Linked DNA regions of Homo sapiens: region 2 is linked to region 1. The links are contacts of gene promoters, found by promoter capture Hi-C in blood cells and fetal thymus (Javierre and others, 2016). All regions are on one chromosome and are shown on one strand. The core of a region is centred on a gene start or on the middle of the fragment in contact, and the rest is flanking DNA. Distances in the headings are between cores, read along the strand shown.

The links. Contacts are between HindIII fragments. The CHiCAGO score rates a contact against its expected background, and 5 or more counts as called.
Region 2: a contact is called between a fragment that was not itself captured here and the fragment with the promoter of ELK1 in region 1, in 5 of 17 cell types (non-activated CD4 T cells, naive CD4 T cells, activated CD4 T cells and 2 more). The highest score is 6.4, in non-activated CD4 T cells.

The regions. Positions count from the first base shown.
Region 1 is chrX:47,648,184-47,652,181 of GRCh38, forward strand. It overlaps ELK1 (ETS transcription factor ELK1), which reads right to left and starts at 2,380. Exons shown (of 7, transcript NM_001114123.3): 1 at 2,240-2,380; 2 at 1,738-1,843. UXT (ubiquitously expressed prefoldin like chaperone) reads right to left here. Exons shown (of 7, transcript NM_004182.4): 6 at 3,898-3,961; 7 at 3,613-3,712. The coding sequence ends at 3,659. RefSeq lists a cis regulatory region at 1,843-2,823 and a silencer at 2,155-2,564. The HindIII fragment of the contact is 5,079 bases long and covers 760-3,998 here.
Region 2 is chrX:47,483,395-47,487,480 of GRCh38, forward strand. LINC01560 (long intergenic non-protein coding RNA 1560) reads left to right here. Exons shown (of 1, transcript NR_126059.1): 1 at 1-1,833. Among named protein-coding and RNA genes, the nearest start is that of ZNF41, 2.2 kb to the left of the region's middle. The HindIII fragment of the contact is 1,138 bases long and covers 682-1,819 here.

The DNA.
Region 1 (3,998 bases), core at 1,130-3,629:
CCTGGAACTCCTGGGCTCAAGCTATCCTCCCACCTCAGCCTCCCGAGTAGCTGGGACTATAAGTGCACACCCCTGTGCCCAGCTACACACCACAGTTTTGTGAACACATTCTTTCAATGCAACAACACAGTCCTTATTCACATATACAACTAGCACTCTTAGAAACAGCTTTTATACCTATGCCTTTACAGAGCATATTACGTACCTCAGTCTTGTGAACACATCCTTTTGAAAAGGAGGAAAACCCTTACTCATATATAAACTGGCATTCTTAGAAACATCTTTCATACATGTATCTTTTTATACTGCATTCCACACACCACAGTGTGGTAAACATCCTTTGGGGGTTGGTATTTGAACAGAGTGCTGAAAGGAACCATGCAGAGATCTGGGGGTGGTGTTCAAGGCACAAAGAACAGCCAATGCAAAGGCCCTGAGGCTGGCCCATGCCTGCTATGTTTGAGGAGCTGTGTGGTGGAACCAGTGTGGTTGGAGCACAGTAAGGGGGTGGGAAGGTATAGGCGGTAATGCTAGAAAGGTTACTTGTTTTACCATTAATTCACAGTTAATATTTATTTACACTGGAAGGGATTCTAGTTCTGATCCCCCATTTCACAAATGAAGAAAAAGGCACAGAGAGGAAGTGGTTAAATCACTCATCTAAGGTCACACAGCTGCTGGGATTGGGGGGTGGGTGGGTGCTGAGAGAAGGTGAGGAATGAAGACTGCTCTGCAGGCAGAGGGAACAGCAAGAACAAAAGCTTGGAGGTGAGAACTAATTTGGTTTTTAAGGACTGAGGCCTCACGTGGGGTGGGATGAGATCTAAGAGGGGAGCCTCAAAAATTATCCTGTGTCCTGAGTACTTCCTGGGCCACCTTTGAGTAAGGAATTTAACCTCCCTATGGCCCAATTCCCTCACTACCTATCTCATGGGGTTGTGGTGAGGATTAAAGGAACTCATTCATATGAAACACTCTGCCTGATATACGGCAGGTGCTCAATAAACGCTAGCTCCTATTGGCATTACTATCATCACTGGCGCTAATGTATTCACTTATTGTAGTGAGGCAGAACGTCTTTGTGGTTACGAGTGTGACCAGGCTGACCCACTATTAAGAGGTGGAGGACAGGGAAGGCCGTACAGTGCTCCATCACAAGGAAAAGAGGATCAGCACGTTCTCTTCTGGGAAGGGAAAAAAAAAGAGAAGGAAATTGAAAGTACACGGCCGATCTTCCCCCAATTACAAAGCACTGGACTCACGGGAGGGTATGCGGGGGACTGTGCAAGCATACAGGGGTGTGGGGGAGGAAGGCCAATGAACAGATCCACTGCAAAGGGAGGGGTGATGAGGCTCATCGTCTGAGGGGAAGGGGAGCAGAAAACCTTACAGACTCCTGCACCACAGTGAGAGGAGAGAAAAGCCATCACACAGACTGATTCAAAGCAGAGAGGGAAAAGGCTATGGACTGAGCTACTGAAAATAGGGAGATGTAAAGCACTAAACTAACCCACTATTAAAAAGGAGAGAACCCCAAGCGCTAGAGCGACAGTCTACGAAAAAGAGGAGACAGGGCAATGGACTGATAGCTAAAGGGACGTGAATCCAAACATGAAGACTGATCCACTATAAAATGGTGGTGGTGGTGGTGGGGGGGGGGGGTGGTTTTGAAAAAAGCCATGGACTGATGCATTGGGGGACTGGAGGAGGCAGGAATACAAACTCAGGTAGACTCACTGTTAAAGAGGGATGCGGAGGAGTGCGGCGCCACGGATTGATTCGCTACGATGTACAGGAAGGGTGGAATAAATAAGGCCACGGACGGGTCTCCTGAAAGTTGAGGCTAGGAGAAATCCAAACACTCAGATACACCTACTATTAAGGGGGCTGAACACTGTCACAGGCTAGCTCCCTATAAGTGGGGGTGGGTGGGGGGCGGGTGGGGGTAGGGGTAGGGGGAAAGCCTATGGACGAGTCCACCCTAAGTTGGCGTGGGGAAAAACATAAGCACGCAGACCGATCCATTATACAACGGGAGGGGGAGGTTAGGCCACGGTCAGATCCACTATAAGGGACGAAGGGCTTGAGCAATGCCACACGCAGGTCCACCAGCCGTGGTGGTGGCGGCGGGGAGTCGAACACCAGCAGGCCACCGGCCAAGCCACATCCTCTGCGCGGGGGCGGGAAGGATACGTGGGGTCACGGACTGGGCCCTCCACCCTCCAGGCCCAGAGCTCACCTGTGTGTAGCGTGGCGGTGGCGTTGGCAATGTTGGCAGCTCCGGGGGGCGGGGGCTCCATACGCGGCCCCACCGCCCCCCAGGCCTGGGTTCCGAGGCGGCGGTGGAGGTGGTGGTGGCGGTGGCGGCGGCAGCACCTAGAAGCCGCCCCTGCGTTTCCCTACAGCTCACGTGGGCCCGAGGAGGAGGAGCCCAATGTCCCGCCGCTCGCTGATTGGCCAAAGCGCTATTAATCGGCCGCAAGGCCTCGAGGGGTTGGGGGACGGGCCCTTCCCTACAGAGCTGTGCCGTGATTGGCGTAAGGGGAAATGATGGAACGCTCACGGCCCCTGGAGTCCCGAGGAGGCGCGTTCGGCCTTCACGGTGCTCCACGCCGATTGGCTCAAGGACTGACGGACTGTGAGCAACTGAAAAGGCTCGGGGCCTGTGTCGGGGGGGCGGGGGTCTGCCTCACACTGATTGGCTTACATGGGATTGATGGAAGACAGCCCCCAAGGACGGGGGTGGGTGGCCCTGTTTTTCTCTGATTGGCGGACGAGGGACTTCTAGACCCCTGCCAAAACACCAAGGGGGCGGTGTCGCACGCCATGCTGCTCAGCGGAAGCAGGGCTTGTATAGAAATGGGCGTAGCAGCCGGCGGGAGTGGGTCGGACTGGGCTCCGCGTAGGCGGGCAGGGCAGCTCTACGGTTAGACAAGACCATAGAGCTGGGTAAAGACGAATTTAGAACACAGCGGAGGTAGGAGGGCAGGATGGCTGTCAGGCACACGAAAGAGCATTGAGTGGCAGAAACGAAATGCTTTCAGAGGGCAGGGTTGAACTGCGGCCAGAGTTAAAAAGGGGAGGAACCTGGCTCTGCATTGATTGGCGGTGGCTGGACTCAACCTAGAATAGGGGCCCGACTAGGGAGAGCGGGATCCAGGTCTGTGCCCATTGGAAGCTGGAACACTTACAAGCAGGGGCTAAGACAAGGTAGGGCTGAGTTAGGGTTTGGGTGTAATTTGGGGTACCTGGGGAATGATTGGGTGTGTGAAAGCGTAAACCTTAGGGCCCTTTGATTGTTGTGGGAATGAACAAACCTCCACCATGAATTGGCCCATTCTCTATGGCAATTCAAAGGGTGGCGTCTAGGAAAAGGAATGGAAGAAAGGGTGAGGTGGGGGGCCCAGGTTGCCAAGATGACAGAAGAGAGGGCAGTGCATAAGGTCAACTGGCAAATACTGCCAGGCAACAGGCTGGAGGCAGGACTGCTGGGGCATTTTGGAGGTTCCACAGAGAGACTGGATCTCTGGGTCTCTCAGTAACTTTGTGCCCTAGGAACAGGCCCCCGTGGCAACTAGCAGGGTTTATGGGGAAAAAGAAGGGCCATGTGACTCAAAGGCATTCAGGCTCTTTAATGTCTGAGGATGGGGGGAAGAAGTCAATGGTGAGGCTTCTCTGGGAAATTCTGCAGGCCTTGTAGTTCTCTAAGCCCCTGAAAAAGAGGACAGAAGAGATTGAACAAAGACTGGGTCTGGGTTACGCCCCCAGGCTTGCTCTGACCTCCCTCCCTTGACTCCAGTTTAGAGGGAAAGATGGTCCTTCCCTTCTTTCGCTCTCTTCCTTCTTCAGGTCACCACCCTAAACACAGAGTCTGGTAGTGGGGTGAGCTGCTCTCACCTCTAGCAACATGTGGATATGGGCTTTGATATTCATGGAGTCCTTGGTGAGGCTGTTGCTGAGCCTAGAGAAAAGAAACAAGAAAGGGCAAAATGGGCCCC
Region 2 (4,086 bases), core at 1-2,500, 170 kb before region 1:
CTGGAAGCATTAAGGTTGAAGTTTTCTTCTAAAGATCAAAGTTTTGATTTGTTATATTAGTTCGGATTTGTTTGATTTTTGTTTGTGTTCGGTTTCAAGTGCTGATTTGTAACTTTTCTCCCCCCCCCACACACGCCTTTTGACCCCTGAATTATTTAAAAGTCCATTGTTGGAGTGGCAAACATCCTCCGAGACTCAAAGGGCAAGGCCATGGGCGCTTTATTCCGGCTGCTGCTCCAGGAACGTGGGAAAGCAGCGGAGTTTTATTCTAGGGGAAGGAAACAAAGGCGGCCGAGTGCCAGCTGCACGTTTGGTGGGATTTGGTCATCAGGGGTGGACATGCTGCCCAATGGAGCTGTCGGCAGTTTGACCCAGCTTGGTCCGTCGCGTCCTGTTCTAGGAATCGATTATTCAAAGAAGGAATTTAGAGGGACTGCAGAAAATGTTACAGGTCTTAACACCATTTTGCATTTCCGCAAACGAACAAGAAGTTAATCCCTGTGTTAGTGATTTCTAAGCCCATTTGCCTTGTGGCCCAAGAACGTTGAGTTTGAAATTTGATGAAACTTGCCTTAAGGCTCAAGTACGAGGCCAGCTTTCAAAAATGGTTTTGTGCCTTGATTGAAAACACTGTATCTTCTAGTTGTTGGATTTATCGTACTCTGCGGCTCTATTGGTTCAAGCTTGTGCGTTGGGCCTTTTAAAATGTGTGTTTCCTGATAATTCCCTTCAGCTTGTCAACTGGGGGTGATGTGGCAGGGAGAAAGAGAGAGAGGAGAGAGAGAGACTGTACTGGCAGGTTTTCCTTGTGCTATTCAATTTTTGCTTCCTATGTTTTGAAGTTTTATTATTAACTGCAGGTTTCATTACTGAATAGATATAGCCAAATTCCTTCCCCCAAAAGATTATAAAGTTTCCTAGTCCTACCAGCAAAATCATTAAGTTCATTAAGGCAAATCCCCTCCAGCGCTGGATGTTGATGCTGTCTTTAATTTTGTATTTTTCTGACTACTTTGTGCAATTGAGGATTGTTTTGGTCTATTGGCCATTTGGCTTTTCTCTTTTGCAAATGTTCATATCCTTTGTCCAGTTTTCTTTAGGGTGATTTTTCCTTTTCGTATCAATTTGTAAACAGTGTACAAATTACATTGTACATTAGGGATATTAACAGTCTGTCAGTTACACTGTACATTAGGGATATTACATTAGAGATATTAACATCTTTGTCCATTAAGGATATTAACCATCTGTCAGTTACATTGCAGTATTTTTCCCTAAACTCTTTTTGTCTTTTGCATTTTATGTTTTTTTAAATGTGCAATTAGAAAAATTTTATATGGGCTGGGCACAGTAATCCCAGCACCCATCTCTACTAAAAATAAAAAAAAAAATAGCCAGGCGTGGTATCTCAACTAAAAAAAAAAAAAAAAATTGCCGGGCATGGTGTTGGGCGCTTGTAATCCCAGCTACTCGGGAGGTTGAGGCAGGAGAATCGCTTGAACTTGGGAAGTGGAGATTGCAGTGAGCTGAGCTCGGGCCACTGCACTCCAGCCTGGGTGATAGAGCAAGACTTCATCTCAAAAAAAAAAAAGAAAGAAAAATTGTATGTGTAATATGTAACTAGTGAAATGTAGCCTCTGATCAGATATGTCTAAACTTTCTTTTATGGCTTTTGTATATCCCATCTTGCCTAGTTTCACTTCCCTATTCCAGATAGAAAGATAATCTTAACATGTATTTCAGTGTTTTTATTGCTTTAATTTTTTCTACTTTAATCTAGTTGGAATTTACTCTGGTATATGGTATGAAATCAAGATCAAGCTTGAACAAGAAGCCTGTGTCACACTTTTTTCTGTGTCAAATAAAAAGAGACTTTAATTAGAAAGACAGACTATTGCAAAAGGGAGAATGCTCCCATCTCAGAAACCTGAGAGCATCTTGAAACCAAACAGAAAAAGGCTTTTCTTGTAGAGGGTAAGGAGGCAGGCAGAGATAAGCAGAATCTGTGGAAAGGAAGCTGCACAAACAAGGGGGAATGGCCAGTGGGGTCTGCCAGGAAATTGTCCCACAGTGGTGCGCCCATTCCCAGGAGAAGCTGAGAAGCAGGGTCCATTGGGAGGGGAGGAATTTCGACTTTTTTTGATGCTTGCCCAGGCTCGGGGGCAAGCAGAGTTAGGAGCTTGTAGGAAAGAAGCCTGGTTCAAGTTTGGCTAAAGAGCATTTTGTTCCAATTGATCAGTGGAGACAAGCAGTTAGGCTTGTCATCTATGAGGCAAAGAATGGGAATTTGGAGAGTGGGTGTCTGGCCTTCTCATAGGTAAACAGGGGACATCCGTGACTTCTAAGTCATATGGGGAAGGATGGTTCTTTGCAGTAAGCCATTTTCCAGAAAAGCCATTTTCCCTTTGGAGTAAGGGGATTTCTTGACCTGCACTGCTCACCAGGATGAGGTAAAATTCAGTATTGCCAGTTGGCACCATTTATGAAACACACCACCTTGTAACCACTGAATTAAATATTGCTTCTGTCATATAAGTTCACAAATATGCTTAGCTTGACCTGAACTCTATTTTGTGTCTGTAGTCTATTTGATTTCAAGGGATTTTTGTTCTTGCAAATTTATTTTCTAGGAATTCTCTGAAGTTTAAAATCATTTAATCAAAAATGAATGCTACCAACCCGTCCCCCACCCCCCGCAAAAAAAAACAAAAACACAGCAAAACTAAATTGTTGTGACTGGGCGAGGTGGCTCATGCCTATAATCCCAGCATTTTGGGAGCCCAAGGTGGGCAAATAACTTGAGGCCAGCAGTTGGAGACCAGCCTGGCCAACATGGCGAAACCCTGTCTTTACTAAAAAATAAAAAAATTAGCCACCCGTGGTGGCAGGCACCTGTAATCCCAGCTACTTGGGAGGCTGAGGCAGGAGAATTGCTTGAACCCAGGAGGTGGAGGTTGCAATGAGTAGAGATCACGCCACTGCACTCCAGCCTGGGCAACAGAGTGAGACTCTCTCAAAAAAAAAAAAAAAAAGCAAACCCTCAACTATTGCTGGGTGAGGTGGCTCACACCTGTAATCCCAGCACTTTGGGAGGCCCAGGCAGGCAGATCACTTGAGGTCAGGAGTTTAAGACCAGCCTGGCCAACATGGTGAAACCCCATCTCTACTAATAATACAAAAATTGGCACAGTGACGCACGCCTGTAATCCCAGCTACTCGGGAGGCTAAGGCAGGAGAATTGCTTGAACCCGGGAGGCAGAGGTTGCAATGAGCTAAGATCGTGCCACTGCACTCCAGCCTGGGTGACAGAGCAAGACTCTGTCTCAAAAAAAAAAATAAATAAACTATTATGATTTTATTGGAATTATATTTATATGAATATAATAGTTGGGGAGATTTAATGTTTTTATTACATTAAGCCTTTCTTTGTATCTAGGGATTTTATGTGTCTGTTTGATTACGTCTTATATGCTGCAATGATATTTATAATTTTTCTTCTTATAAATCCATCATCTTTTTATCTTTTTTGGTTAAATTTATTTTTTGCATATTTATATTTTTGTTGTCATTAAGACTTATTTTTGCTAGTCCCATCTGGTTACTGCTAGTATAGGAATAACCTATTTTTGTACTTTTCTCTTTTATTTTTATTTTTTGAGATAGGATCTTGCCTTGAAGTTCACTGGCATGATCACAGCTCACTGTAGCCTTAACCTTCCAGGCTCAAATGATCCTCCTTCCTCAGCCTCCCAAGTAGCTGGGACTACAGGTGTGCACTACCAGACCCAGCTAATTTTTAAATTTTTCCGTAGAGATAGGTTCTCCCTATGTTGCCCAGGCTGGTGTCAAACTCCTGGACTCAAGTGATCCTCCCACCTCAGCCTCCCTAATGGCTGGGACTACAGGTGATAATTTTATCTTGTATCCAACTCCTTATCAAAACTATCTACCTATTCTGGTAGCTTCTTATTACAGTTTTTTCCTAGGTTTTCTAATTGTACAGTTGTATCAGATATAGATAATATTTCCTATCTGACATTTGATATATTTCTTCTTTTTTCACTGTATTAGCTGTCTAATAAGGTA